Linked DNA regions of Homo sapiens: region 1 is linked to region 2. The links are contacts of gene promoters, found by promoter capture Hi-C in human tissues and cell types (Jung and others, 2019). All regions are on one chromosome and are shown on one strand. The core of a region is centred on a gene start or on the middle of the fragment in contact, and the rest is flanking DNA. Distances in the headings are between cores, read along the strand shown. Region 1 overlaps CD86 (CD86 molecule). Region 2 holds the start of SLC15A2 (solute carrier family 15 member 2).

Evidence for each region. Contacts are between HindIII fragments. The study calls those that stand out against the background at their distance.
Region 1: a contact is called between a fragment that was not itself captured here and the fragment with the promoter of SLC15A2 in region 2, in 1 of the 25 tissues and cell types used here (thymus).

Annotation. Positions count from the first base shown.
Region 1 is chr3:122,070,150-122,076,789 of GRCh38, forward strand. The region is part of intron 1 of CD86 (CD86 molecule); the gene reads left to right. Among named protein-coding and RNA genes, the nearest start is that of CD86, 18 kb to the left of the region's middle. RefSeq lists an enhancer at 4,547-4,886. The HindIII fragment of the contact is 6,239 bases long and covers 319-6,557 here.
Region 2 is chr3:121,891,446-121,898,304 of GRCh38, forward strand. SLC15A2 (solute carrier family 15 member 2) reads left to right here and starts at 2,956. Exons shown (of 22, transcript NM_021082.4): 1 at 2,956-3,136; 2 at 4,961-5,048; 3 at 5,943-6,084. The coding sequence starts at 3,032. RefSeq lists enhancers at 1,382-1,915, 1,916-2,448. The HindIII fragment of the contact is 16,247 bases long and covers 1-5,157 here.

The sequences.
Region 1 (6,640 bases), core at 2,188-4,687, 180 kb after region 2:
TGAAAATACCTCTTGGTGTCCCTTGCCTTTCTGACTTCTTGCTTGAAGACATCTAGACAAAAATGTGTCCCTGGGTCCTAGTTTCTGGGTTCAGAAATTGATCGAATGCAAGAAAACAATACACATTGCCTCTTCCTTAGCATGCATGAATGGTAGGTGTGAATTTGCATCATGAGAAAGTAAATAAAAGAAGATTCCCCAGGGCAGCTAGGGAGGCAGAAAAAGCCAGCCTAGGATGGGAGTGGAGGACATGTTAGAGGTTATGAGAGTGAGGGTCCATCCTACCCCACCTCGGTAACTCACTGGTATGGTATAAATGCAAAATTTTGGCTCACACAAAGAAAAATACTCAACTTCTAATGCTTAACTATGTAAAATTTGCTTTTAAAGTACAAGTTAAAATTGTATCGCCCCTCAAAGAAACAAGAAACTCATTACATTTCTAAGAATGTTCCTTCAGAAACATGGAACTGAAAGCTATTTTTAAAAATTGATCTGGCCCTTAGAAAACTGGGGCCTTTTCTTTAATTTACCTAAGGAATTGACATAAAAGTCTAGGGTTCTGCACCAGAAAAATGCAGAAAGTGTCAAAATAAAAGGCAGAAATACAAAAGGAGACTTTTTGCAGCAACGTTCTATGTATAGCATTGATTCCAAGGGTGCAACATAGGGAAGTGAACATGTGGACTGTGAAATTGATGCTAATTTTCTTTCCCACTAGTCTAGCAGCCCTCTAAAATGTCACATTATTAATTTAGTTACTTTACCAGAAATCCGTGTATGTGGTTAGCATGTGTGTTTTTTTTTAATTAACAGACTTTACTTATTTTTAGAACAGTTTTAGATTTTCAAAAAATTGAGCACATAGTACGAGAATTCCCATCTACTCCCTTTGTGGAACACAATTTCCCCTATTTTTACCATCTTGCATTAGTGTGATGTATTTCTTACGATCAAGCCATTGTTGCTTCATTATTATTATTATTTAAAGCCCATAATTTACATTAAGTTTCTCTCTTTGGGTTGTACAGTTCTATGGATTTTGACAAATACACAATGTCATGTATCCACCATTATAGTATCATACAGAATAGCTTCACTGCCCTAAGAATCCCCTGTGCTCTGCCTGTTGACCCTTCCCACCCCTCCCCAACCCCTGGAAACCACTGATCTTTTTACTGTCTCCACAGTTTTGCCTTTTCCAGAATGTTCTATCTTTGGAATCATACAGTATGTACCCTTTTCAGATTGACTTCTTTCATTAAGCAATATGAATTTAAGTTTTCTCCATGTCTTTTCACATCTTGATGGCTCATTTCTATTTATTACCACATAATATTCCATTGTCTGGATATACCACAGCTTTACCAACTGAGGGGCATCTTAGTTGCTAATTATGAATAAAGTGGCTATACATATTCACGTGTAGGTTTTGTGTGGACATAAGTCTTCAATTCAATTGAGTAAATATACCTAGAAGTGTGACTGCTGGATCATATGGTAAGAGTATATTTACTTTTTTAAGAAACTGCTAAACTATATCCCAAAGTAGTTTTACCATTTTGCATTCTTTTCTTTATTTTTTTTTTATTATACTTTAAGTTTTAGGGTATGTGTGCACAATGTGCAGGTTAGTTACATATGTATACATGTGCCATGTTGGTGTGCTGCACCCATTAACTCATCATTTAGCATTAGGAGGTAAATCTCCTAATGCTATCCCTCCCCCCTCCCCCCACCCCACAACAGTCCCCAGAGTGTGATGTTCCCCTTCCTGTGTCCATGTGTTCTCATTGTTCAACTCCTATCTATGAGTGAGAACATGCGGTGTTTGGTTTTTTGTCCTTGCGGTAGTTTACTGAGAATGATGATTTCCAATTTCATCCATGTCCCTACAAAGGACATGAACTCATCATTTTTTATGGCTGCATAGTATTCCATGGTGTATATGTGCCATATTTTCTTAATCCAGTCTATCATTGTTGGACATTTGGGTTGGTTCCAAGTCTTTGCTATTGTGAATAGTGCCACAATAAACATACGTGTGCATGTGTCTTTATAGCAGCATGATTTATAGTCCTTTGGGTATATACCCAGTAATGGGATGGCTGGGTCAAATGGTATTTCTAGTTCTAGATCCCTGAGGAATCGCCACACTGACTTCCACAATGGTTGAACTAGTTTACAGTCCCACCAACAGTGTAAAAGTGTTCCTATTTCTCCACATTCTCTCCAGCACCTGTTGTTTCCTGACTTTTTAATGATTGCCATTCTAACTGGTGTGAGATGGTATCTCATTGTGGTTTTGATTTGCATTTGTCTGATGGCCAGTGATGGTGAGCATTTTTTCATGTGTCTTTTGGCTGCATAAATGTCTTCTTTTGAGAAGTGTCTGTTCATATCCCTTGCCCACTTTTTGATGGGGTTGTTTGTTTTTTTCTTGTAAATTTGTTTGAGTTCATTGTAGATTCTGGATATTAGCCCTTTGTCAGATGAGTAGGTTGCAAAAATTTTTTCCCATTTTGTAGGTTGCCTGTTCACTCTGATGGTATTTTCTTTTGCTGTGCAGAAGCTCTTTAGTTTAATTAGATCCCATTTGTCAATTTTGGCTTTGGTTGCCATTGCTTTTGGTGTTTTAGACATGAAGTCCTTGCCCATGCCTATGTCCTGAATGGTAATGTCTAGGTTTTCTTCTAGGGTTTTTATGGTTTTAGGTCTAATGTTTAAGTCTTTAATCCATCTTGAATTGATTTTTGTATAAGGTGTAAGGAAGGGATCCAGTTTCAGCTTTCTGCATATGGCTAGCCAGTTTTCCCAGCACCATTTATTAAACAGGGAATCCTTTCCCCATTGCTTGTTTTTCTCAGGTTTGTCAAAGATCAGATAGTTGTAGATATGCGGCCTTATTTCTGAGGGCTCTGTCACTATACATCTACTAGAATGGGTAAAATCCAAAAATCTGACAATACCAAATGCTGCTGAGGATGTGGAGCAACAGGAAGCCTCATTGCTCCACATCCTCAGCAGCATTTGGTATTGTCAGATTTTTGGATTTTAGCCATTCTACTAGATGTGTAGTGGTATCTTACTGTTTTAATTTGCAATTCTCTAATGAGGTATGATGCTGACCACCTTTTCATATGCTTATTTGCTGTCCGTGTACCTTCTTTGGTGAGGTATATGTTCAGATCTTTTGCTCCTTATTAAATTGGGCTGTTTGTTCTTTTATCTTTGAGTTATAAGAGTTCATTGTGTATTTTGGATACCAGCCCTTTATCAGATATATCTTTTGCAAATATTTTTTCCCCAATCTTTGGCGTGTCTTTTTATTCATATAATGGTTGATACATGTTTCTGCTTTAAGGAGGAAGGGTTTTAAAAATACAATTTACAGTAGCAGTAAAAATAAAAATTTATTGCAAATGTCTTATGTTCACTCTCAGGTGATGTCAGGGAACTATGGACCCAGCAGGGTTTAATTAAAGGGGAGTGTCAAGTCCTGGGGGCTGTGGTTGACAATCCTCCTTTATTGGCAATTGTGCAGCAGGGCTGGGAGTAAGAAGACAACCCAGTCCTGAGCTGCATCACTTCTAAATTAAGAATAATTCAGGAACTGTGTTTACGGTGAAATCCTGGCCCTTCTCACATAGATTATATTATGCATAGGATATGAATTTCTGTCCATGAATCCAAGTATATATGAAATCATCACTTTGAAAATTTCCTTTAACTCAACTTAATCCCACTGGTGAGCCTCAATCCTGCCAGTTGAAAAAGAGACTGTAACTGGGTCATGCAGGAGTCTCCTTCCTTTCCTGCAGCCCAGTCAGAATTCAAGAAGTTCACCTGGTAACTGGAAAATGATGGAAGGGCCTCAAGTCCCTAGTCTGTCCTGGTTGCCATTGGCACCCTTACTATCTGAGCCCATAGTGGTCTGTGAAGTCCGGCAGCTCCCTGCCCCCATGCCACAGTGGGGAATGAGAATATCTACTGATGCTGGGCCCCATGAGCAAAGCATGCTGCCTTTCTAGGCATGAGCCATCACACCTGAGGTTGCTACCCCCTCGGGAGCACTGATGGAGGGGCAGTTGGGTTTCTACTGCTCACAGGACCCAGACAACCATCCCCTGCCCTCCCTTCTTCTTGCACTTCAAAAGCACTCTCTTCCTCTCTTTTCACCTCTAAGCCACCGGTATCATCTCTTCCATGGGCTTTCACAAAAGTCTGGATGAACCTTTGAACTTGTATCTCTTCTGCTTTCCCCCTTGCATCAAGAAAGCTTAGAAAACAAACACTAATTAACGTTTCAATAAATAATGCTGCTCTAATTATTTGTGGAAACTATTCTGTATTAGAACTACCATCAGCACCGCCTCCTAGAGTGCTTTTAGACTTGACCACTGGCCGCAGGAGGCCACTTCCATATAACAACAAACAGATGGCTGAAATTGGAAAACTCAGCTAAATGTTCAGATGTTTCTAGACTCCCACGGGTTTCTGGCTCTGGCACATGGAGTAGATCCTGACTGTGTGGTCCTCAGGGGACTCTCTCTGGTGAAGTTTGGTGAGGTCAACTTCCACACCCACACACACCAGCTACTGTGTGTAGCCTGTCCTCCTCTGGTTGCTTCTACTTGCAGCCTTGGCCTCTTCAGTCCTGAGAGCGTTGGAGAATGAGGCAGTGGAGGAAGCAGCCCCACACAGAAAGCAGTTTCTGAAGTAACCTCAGCAACTTCCTCCTCACCAAACACAAGGAACTGATCTTCTCCACTGGGCTCGGCCTCTGGTCAGCCAAGGACAACACTGTTGACCACCATCACGGTTGGCCCCACTCCACCCTTGGCTCTGATGACATATGTGGGAGTCAGAGGAATTTTGATTGGCTGACTGCTGGCCTGTCACACAAACAAGATGGGGCAAGGGGGTTGCGATATGACTTGACATGTGAAAAAAAAAAAAGCCGTGGTCAGCAACCCCCTGCAACTGTTGAAAGGCTAATTCAATCTCTGACTCTTTAACAAAAGTGATCTTGTTCACTGCCTGTTCTGCCCTGAGAGCCTTCTCTGCTAGGAGGTAGGTTGACTGACTCAGGGAGAAGGGTGCTGGTGGCAGAGCTGCCAATGGGTGAGGGTCCTAGAGACTATCGACATGAGGGGCAGTTGAGAACACTGTAGTATTTAGCTGAGAGGAGAGACTATTAATAAAATTTACAAAATCAGCTTTCAGCTATTTGGAAGGGTTTATATAAAAGGATAAAATAATATGTTCTGGTAGTTCTAGAAAACAGGACAGAGACAAGTAGCTGGTACTTATGGATTGGAGGAGTGAGTGGCAGTAGTTTGGGGATTATTTATAAAAAAGACATTTTTCTGTTAACTCTCTTTTCTAATAGTGAATTTCCCAACCTGACAAGTAAGAAAGCACAGGCTAGACACGCATCTGTCATGACACTGAAGGGGTCCTTGCTTGAGTGAGAGACTGGAATGATGAGTTTTGAGGTCCCTTACAGTCCAGCAACTCTAGCTAAGTTGGAGAATAAGAGAATTCCATGACACCATATCACCCCCTCATTTCTGCTGCCTGCCTCACCATTCATCTCTCTTTACTCCTTTTAATATCATTCTACGTTACAGCATTGGAGGAGGCTGCTCTAAATAGGAACTGAAATAAGTAGATTAAAGAAGTGCTATGGAAGGGAAAACAATAAAACAACTTGTTTTTTAAGAGCCTACTATTGCCAGGATCTGTGCTAAGCACCATATATATGCCATGTTATTTAACCGTCATGACATGCCTATGAGATATTTAGTATTACTTCTGTGAGGAAGCCAAAGCTCAGAGAGGTTAAATAACTGCCCCAAGAACACACAGGCATTAAGTAGTGGAGCAGGGTTTGAACACAGGTCTCTATGACTCCAAAGTGCAGTGTGATATGTTATTTTTACTGATCTGTTTATGGAAAATGATACTGCTTTCTAATTTAGTATTAACACAAAGATTTTTTTCTAAATAGATTTACTTAAAGTATGTTATAAAAATACTATATAAATAATGAAACAGATTTTACATGAGTATGAAGTGGTACTAGTAGCTAGAATGATGAAAGTTTGGGGAATACTACTCCAAATATTTTGATAGCTAGCCTTTCAATTTAGCCTGTCTTATATTTGGACTGCTGAGTACAAGGAAAAGAAGGAAACATGAAAATTAAGTGAAATATGAGTTACTTCCCCTGTGCTCTGATAGGTGGGTAATTGATCATATGTCACAATAAGAAAATCAAATGAACCCTTTCAAACAACAGCAAAATCTGTGATTGTAAAATCCAGAGGAAAACCCCAGGTGGGATCTATCTGTATGAAGGATGAAATTTCCAAGGTCTGAACATAGAATGGCTGAGAGGAAGTGATGACCCTGTGAGTCAAGACCCTGGACCCTGGGGGAGCCCTGTGGGTTTGAGAAGCCCTGGGTGAAAGGTGAAGGGTTTTACAGGCCTGTTTACAGACCTCTGTAGTGACAGAAGGGAGATCTTTGTGCAAAGGTCAAAGTAAGAATTGGGAAAGTCTGAAAAGAAAACAGGAAAGTAATAATGAAGATGAAATAACTACTTGGCATACTCTGCCACATGATTTACAGGCAA
Region 2 (6,859 bases), core at 1,706-4,205:
TCTTCTCTCTGACTATATTAGATTCTATTAACTTAGAGCAGCAGTCTACTTTTGTGTATATATAACTAAAACTTTATCATATGTCATAATAAATGTTTTCTGATGTTGTAATCACTAAGGACACAAATATTCTTTACTCATCACTGATACTTAGATTCTTTCACTTTTATTGTTTGTCTCAGAATAGTTGGTGCTCATTTCTGTCTGGGAGGTGCTTTCTTTTTATCTCTTCTCTTTCTCCTTCTATCTGATGTTAGCAAAATAATAGGATTTAAGAGCCATCTTAATATTATATAAATGGCTCAAGACTATGCCTTGGGAGCCTAGGGTTCCAGTCCTTGCTTTGTCCCTTCTGAGTTCCTCTGAAATAGAATAGGAGAGAATTTATGACCAGTGTTTCCCAAATTCCTAGCGTAAGAATTGCTAGAGGTGCTCGTTGAAAACAAAGATTCTTAGATCCCTACCGAGATCTACTGAATTGGAATTTCCAAAGGAAAATGATTCTTATCCTCAGGGAAGTTTCACTCACATAGGACAAGATTAAGATTCCTTCCATCTCTGATATTATTCGATTCTGTGAATACTATCATTATACTGCCATAATCAAAAGAAGAATTTTGTCTAAACAAAGGAGTGTCAGAAAACCACTGCCAATACTCCAAAGTTTAGTATTTGGGATACCTATGAGCACAAATAAATTGGTACATTGCATACAGGTGCTATTCCATCTACTCTGCCAGATCAAGGAAAGCCACAACATAAGTGGATCTTCAAGGCATCTGTGCCTCTGCTAGTTAACTTGACTAGTAACTTCTGACCATTTATTTTCCAGCCAAAGTCATTAACCAAACCAATTCAGAAATGGCAGTGCTTCCTGAAAGAATAACTATACCTTAATTATTAATGCCACAGTCAGAAATGAAGCTGGACTCTTCTTTGGGTAAAGGTTGGTGGGAGACAGTAGAAATGAGGGGTGTAATAGAAGCTGAGAAGATATGGTCAAAGTCTGAGTTAAAGTTTAGAGAGGAAAAGACAGTTTATCCTGGCCCTATTTGTCAATAAATTATTTGAATAGTTAAAGTAAAAATTTTGTGAGGGATAGAGTTATAGGTTTTCTCTCTTGTATTTTCAAATAAAATAATTCATTCTGATGTTGCCTGACCTTGTTGATTTAGTCTTCATTTTTCTTATTTCTTTTATAGCTCTCTAGCCTTTCTTTTCCCTTTTCTTTTGACAAACAACTAGAGGGGCACCATGCTCTTTTCTTATCCTTTTACTTCTTTGGCTTGACAAAAATAACACAGCATAAAATGCACCTAGCATTATGATGTTTGTTCTTGTTCCTCTTCTGATAAGGACTAAATGTATAATTAAGGAAAATGGTGTTCACAACAGTACCTAGAAAGTAACTGGTTCACAATTTTTGCTCAAATTAAATTTTATTTATTAAATGAAAGAATAGATTAATCTTGAAGTGAGAAAATGAAAATATAAGGAGTGACTTTAGCAAAGAAGAACAATGGTTCCCAAATGTATATCACCAATCCTTTTCTCTCATTTTCTTTAGCCCCACCTCTTTAATTGCTTATAGGCTATTTCTAGCTGAACTTTTATGATGTTGAAAACAAAAGTCTCCTTCCTTCCTTCCTTTCTTTTCTTTTCTTTCTTTCCTTTCTTTCCCTTCTTTTCTTTCTTTCTTTCCTTTCTTTCCCTTCTTTTCTTTCTTTCTTTCAAGTCTTGCTCCGTCGCCCAGGCTGGAGTGCAGTGGTGGGGTCTCGGCTCACTGCAACCTCTGCCTCTTGGGTTCAAACGATTCTCCTGCCTCAGCCTCCTGAGTAGCTGGGACTACAGGCGCGTGCCACCACACCCAGCTAATTTTTGTATTTTTAGTAGAGATGGGGTTTCACTATGTTGGCCAGGCTAATCTTGAACTCCTGAGCTGTGATCAGCCCACCTCGGCCTCCCAAAGTGTTGGGATTACAGGCGTAAGCCTCTGCACCCAGCCAAAACTCACCATCTTTCTTATCTTCCAAACTCAGTTTTATGATGACTTTCCTTCTCCAATGCATTTTAATCCTCTGCATTCCTACATTCCATTTATGTAACCTCCATACCTGAATAATGACTGACACTAACTCCACTTTTCCCAGCTGTCATGGCATAGTGAAAATTCCAGATCTGCCACTTAGTGGACAGGTACTTTGAACAAATTTCTTAACCTCTGGGAACATTACTTTCTATAAAATGGGGATAGTAATATGAATTAGAATAAATATATATGTTATAGATATACAACATAGATGTAATTCATATATATTAACCTTTCAATAGTAGATGTTCAATAAATTACAGCTATTGTTACCCTGAAATCAGTTTTTCTTTTTTTTTTTTTTTGGAAATGGAGTTTCGCTCTTGTTGCCCAGGCTGGAGTGCAATGGTGCAATCTCAGCTCACCGCAACCTCCGCCTCCCAGGTTCAAGTGATTCTTCTGCCTTAGCCTCCTGAGTAGCTGGGATTATAGGCGCCCGCCACCACACCCAGCTAATTTTTTTTTTGTATTTTTAGTAGAGACGGGGTTTCACCATGTGGGCCAGGCTGCTGACCTAAAACGATCCGCCTGCCTGGGCCTTCCAAAGTGCTAGGATTATATGCGTGAACCACCGCGCCTGACCATGGAATCAGTTTTTCAATCTGTGCTCGAGGTGTTGTGTTCTTAACTATCTTCTACTCCTTTGCAAAGATAATCTTTCTTAAACATAGACTTTCTAATCAGTTCTCTAGCATTGTTTCATTCTGTCTTTGGCATGTTTTCACTTTGCTGTGCTGTACTTTTACACATTCTTTTTAACTATAGCTTCCTGCTTTGCTCTGGATCAGGAAGCTATTGAAGCTGACACCCACAGAGTTAAACTGAGTTGCTGAAGCCACCAGCTCCCCCTCCCAGTCCTTCTTTTCAGAGTAGGCTGGCAGCTGTCCTAACTGCCTACTAAAGCCAAATGCTTGAGGAGAGAGAGAGAGTAAGGAGCCAGCCATGAATCCTTTCCAGAAAAATGAGTCCAAGGAAACTCTTTTTTCACCTGTCTCCATTGAAGAGGTACCACCTCGACCACCTAGCCCTCCAAAGAAGCCATCTCCGGTGAGTCCTTAGATTCAATCCTGCCTCTGAGAGGAATGGCCTCCCTCTTTTGGCTCTCTTCCTTGGGCTCTGGAGCTTCCAGCTGAGCTGTATTAGGGTATTAAAATGCTTCTCTCTTGGATTTAGAATTCACCTGAAACCAAATCTAAACAGAAGCTTCCTTTACATAAGAAGACAAAGCAGCAGGAAGAGGTAGTCAAAGTTCTTCAGTTGGGATCCAGGGACTTGCTGAATTTCATTGCATATTCTGTTTCCCTGGGGGAAAAAAGCAATTCGAATGTCCAGGGAAACTTGGCAAGCATTCTTGTCTGAAGAACTGTGTGTGATTGTTCTTTCTTTACCAATATAAAAACTCTGCCCTTAGTTCTCCCTGTGTGCAGAGTCTTCTGCTGAACACCAATGGAAGTTTCAGAATAGATCCAATTTCTGTTACTATGTGTTCCCAGTTTACTGTGGGAGATAGGACAGAGAAACAGAGAATAGTAATGTTTTGCATTTATATACTCGCTAAAGCACTTCTAAACTCATCATCTCAGTCAATTCTTACACTAAAATTCTGTAAGTGGGGAGGATATAGTAATGATAGCCAAAATTTACTGAGTTCTTACAGTGGGCCAAAAGGTGATGTTATTCTCATTTCTTTGGAATAACAGAACAGAGGTTTTGAGACAGGTGTAGTGACAATGCCAGTATCAGTATGTTAACACAGCCAGTGGCAGTGTTGCCTAACTAGCTAACAGTGTGTCGGCTAAACTCCAGATTGCATAATTCTCAAGCTGTGAGCTGCAAAGGTAAGAAGCCCAGTTCATTGTATGTTTCAAACAAGCTATTATAAAACATTAAAATATATTAATATTTAGGAGGATCATTTATATATATCCCTAGGGTTAAAAGAATAATACATTACTTTATTATTTTGCCTATTTTTTTAGTTAATGATATCTCTTCTGGTCCCAAAGAATTTAGGGCTACTTGCAAAGATGTATATACTTCTCATGAAATGAGGCAATATAAATCTTACAAGATTTGACTGTACTGAGGACAGATACCTCTATGTCTCTTCTCATGTTAGTTGGTCTATTGTAATAGATAGGGAATTAAAATAAAACATAACATTCCTTATATTCTGACTGATATATTACATGAAAAGCATAATTCTTTTAATGTCCAGTAGGATTATCATGAAAATGTTATAGAATCTCTTTAGTAGGAAGAGTAGACATTTAATTTTACAGGATTTAAGAACTCTGCCTAAAGTCAAGGTGATCAATTAGCTTACCCTTAGGAATCTCTGTCCTCCATGTTGGGCTCTGTGCCTGACTCCAGCAGCCTCTGAAGTAGAAGCTATCATATTGCCAGGATTCCTCCCAGCATGGCAAACAGAACAGCTGGGGACAAGAGTCCCCATAGTGGGGCTAAGCAGAGACTGACATCTGAATCTCACTGCTTGGATATCAGGTATTCCATAGGCTACCTCTTTATTCTGTTCCTAGGAAGTAAATATCACCATTCTTCTGCCCCAGAGCCCTAGGCTTTTCATTTAGTAGTTGTGGGAAGATGAGCAGGTCCAAGGAATATTTGAGCAAGTCCATGTAAAATAAATAAGAAACAAAATAATATTCAGAGTAGCTTCTATTATTTCTAAATCAGTAATATAAGCACTTTTAGTGTTACCTAATAGGTGTGTCATGAAGAGTAGAGACCATTGCTCCATTACCTACCAAGATGATTTGAAATAAATGAATTTTTCAGTTTTGAAGAAATCTAATTGTTGAAACAGGGAAAAACAGCTCATGCTTGAATCATTGCCTTCTTGTTGAATAGACAATCTGTGGCTCCAACTATCCACTGAGCATTGCCTTCATTGTGGTGAATGAATTCTGCGAGCGCTTTTCCTATTATGGAATGAAAGGTAATTTTGTGTCCAAGAGTCCTACCTACTCTCCTCCACCCACCCTCACCCCATGTTTGTGACAGCCTGGTCTCTTTATATGCACTTATTTCCCGAGTCCACTCTTTCTGCCTTGGTCCAAATTGGTCCTTTACTTTGGCCAAGACTTCCAATAAATCTCTCATAGGATTTCACCTAATATGTAGGCCAAGATCAGAAAGGCCTGAGACAAACCAGAACATAGACTTTGAGAATGGGTAAGTGGGTGGAGCTGGGCATGATGGCATGTGCCTGTAGTCGCCACTACTTGGGAGGCTGAAGCAGGAGGATTGCTTGGGCCCAGGAGTTCAAGGTTATCAGGCACCTGTAATTGTGCCAGTGAATGGCCACTGCACTCCAGCCTGGGCAACATAGCAAGAACTCATCTCCAAAAAAAAAAAAAAAAAAGGGGGGGGAGGGAAAGCTCTCATTATCTCAGTTACATTTTTCATACCTGTTCCTCAGGTATGAGCTAACAGCTCTTGGCTAAGGGCTCATACCTGAGGAACAGGTATGAAGAATGGAATTCAGATAAGAGGTCTTATCATCTTGTTGCTGGGAAGGAGAGGAGAGGGAAGGGATATTGGAAGCACCATGTTATGTTCATGGTTGGCCTAAATGATGCTAGGGGTGCACATAGACTGAAGGGAGGAGTATTATATTTGTACATTCAACATAGTCCCATTCACTCCCACAACTCCCATGGGGCCCTGCTTCTACTGCCTGGCAGTCACTTCTCAGTCATGTCACTGATAGGAGTGCTGAAGGCCAAAATCACATTATAAAGACCAGAGATTAAATATTTTTTTCCATAAGTCACTTTAATGCATCTATCTTGTTTTGTCTCCCCACGCCTCCTTTTTTTTCCCACTACAGCTGTGCTGATCCTGTATTTCCTGTATTTCCTGCACTGGAATGAAGATACCTCCACATCTATATACCATGCCTTCAGCAGCCTCTGTTATTTTACTCCCATCCTGGGAGCAGCCATTGCTGACTCGTGGTTGGGAAAATTCAAGTAAGGAAGATGGGAGGTCACATCCCTACAAGTTTCACAGGTTGTGCAGAAGGCTATCACTTCTAGCCTCTTGCTTCTGAGTAAGAACATACCTATGTCATGCGTGAAAAATAAGAATCTCTGTACATCTGTGTAGTGTGGGAAATTTAAAAAAAAAGAATCTCTGTGGTAACAAGGAAAGGCTATTCTTTTCATTATCAATTTTTCCAATGTGTTTACATCCTCTTCAGTTGCGGTATCTTTTGTTCCTTAAAACTAATTTTAACCTTCCATTCCATAGTTTAATATTAAATCTTGCTCTGATCTTGTTGGAGATAGACAGCACTATCCACCAGCAAATTTCTAATTTTAGCCAGGTGCGGTGGCTCACGCCTGTAATCCCAGCACTTTGGGAGGCCGAGGCGGGCAGATTGCCTGAGGTGAGGAGTTTGAGACTAGCCTGGCTAACATGGTGAAACCCCGTCTCTACTAAAAATACAAAAATTGGCCAGGCATGGTGGCGGGCACCTGTAATCCCAGCTACTTGGGAGGCTGAGGCAGGAGAGTTGCTTGAATATGGGAGGCAGAGGTTGCAGTGAGCCAAGATCATGCCACTGCACTCCAGCCTGGGCAACAGAAAAAGACTCTGTCTCAAAAAAAAAAAAAAATTGAAATTTTGATGCTTTTATGTAGTTATTTGATACTTTCTCCATCTCTTCTCCAGATTGAGTTATCCCACCTCCTTTAGGATCTTCTTATGAGTGTCTCTTTTCAGCTCTTTTACCATCTATTTCTC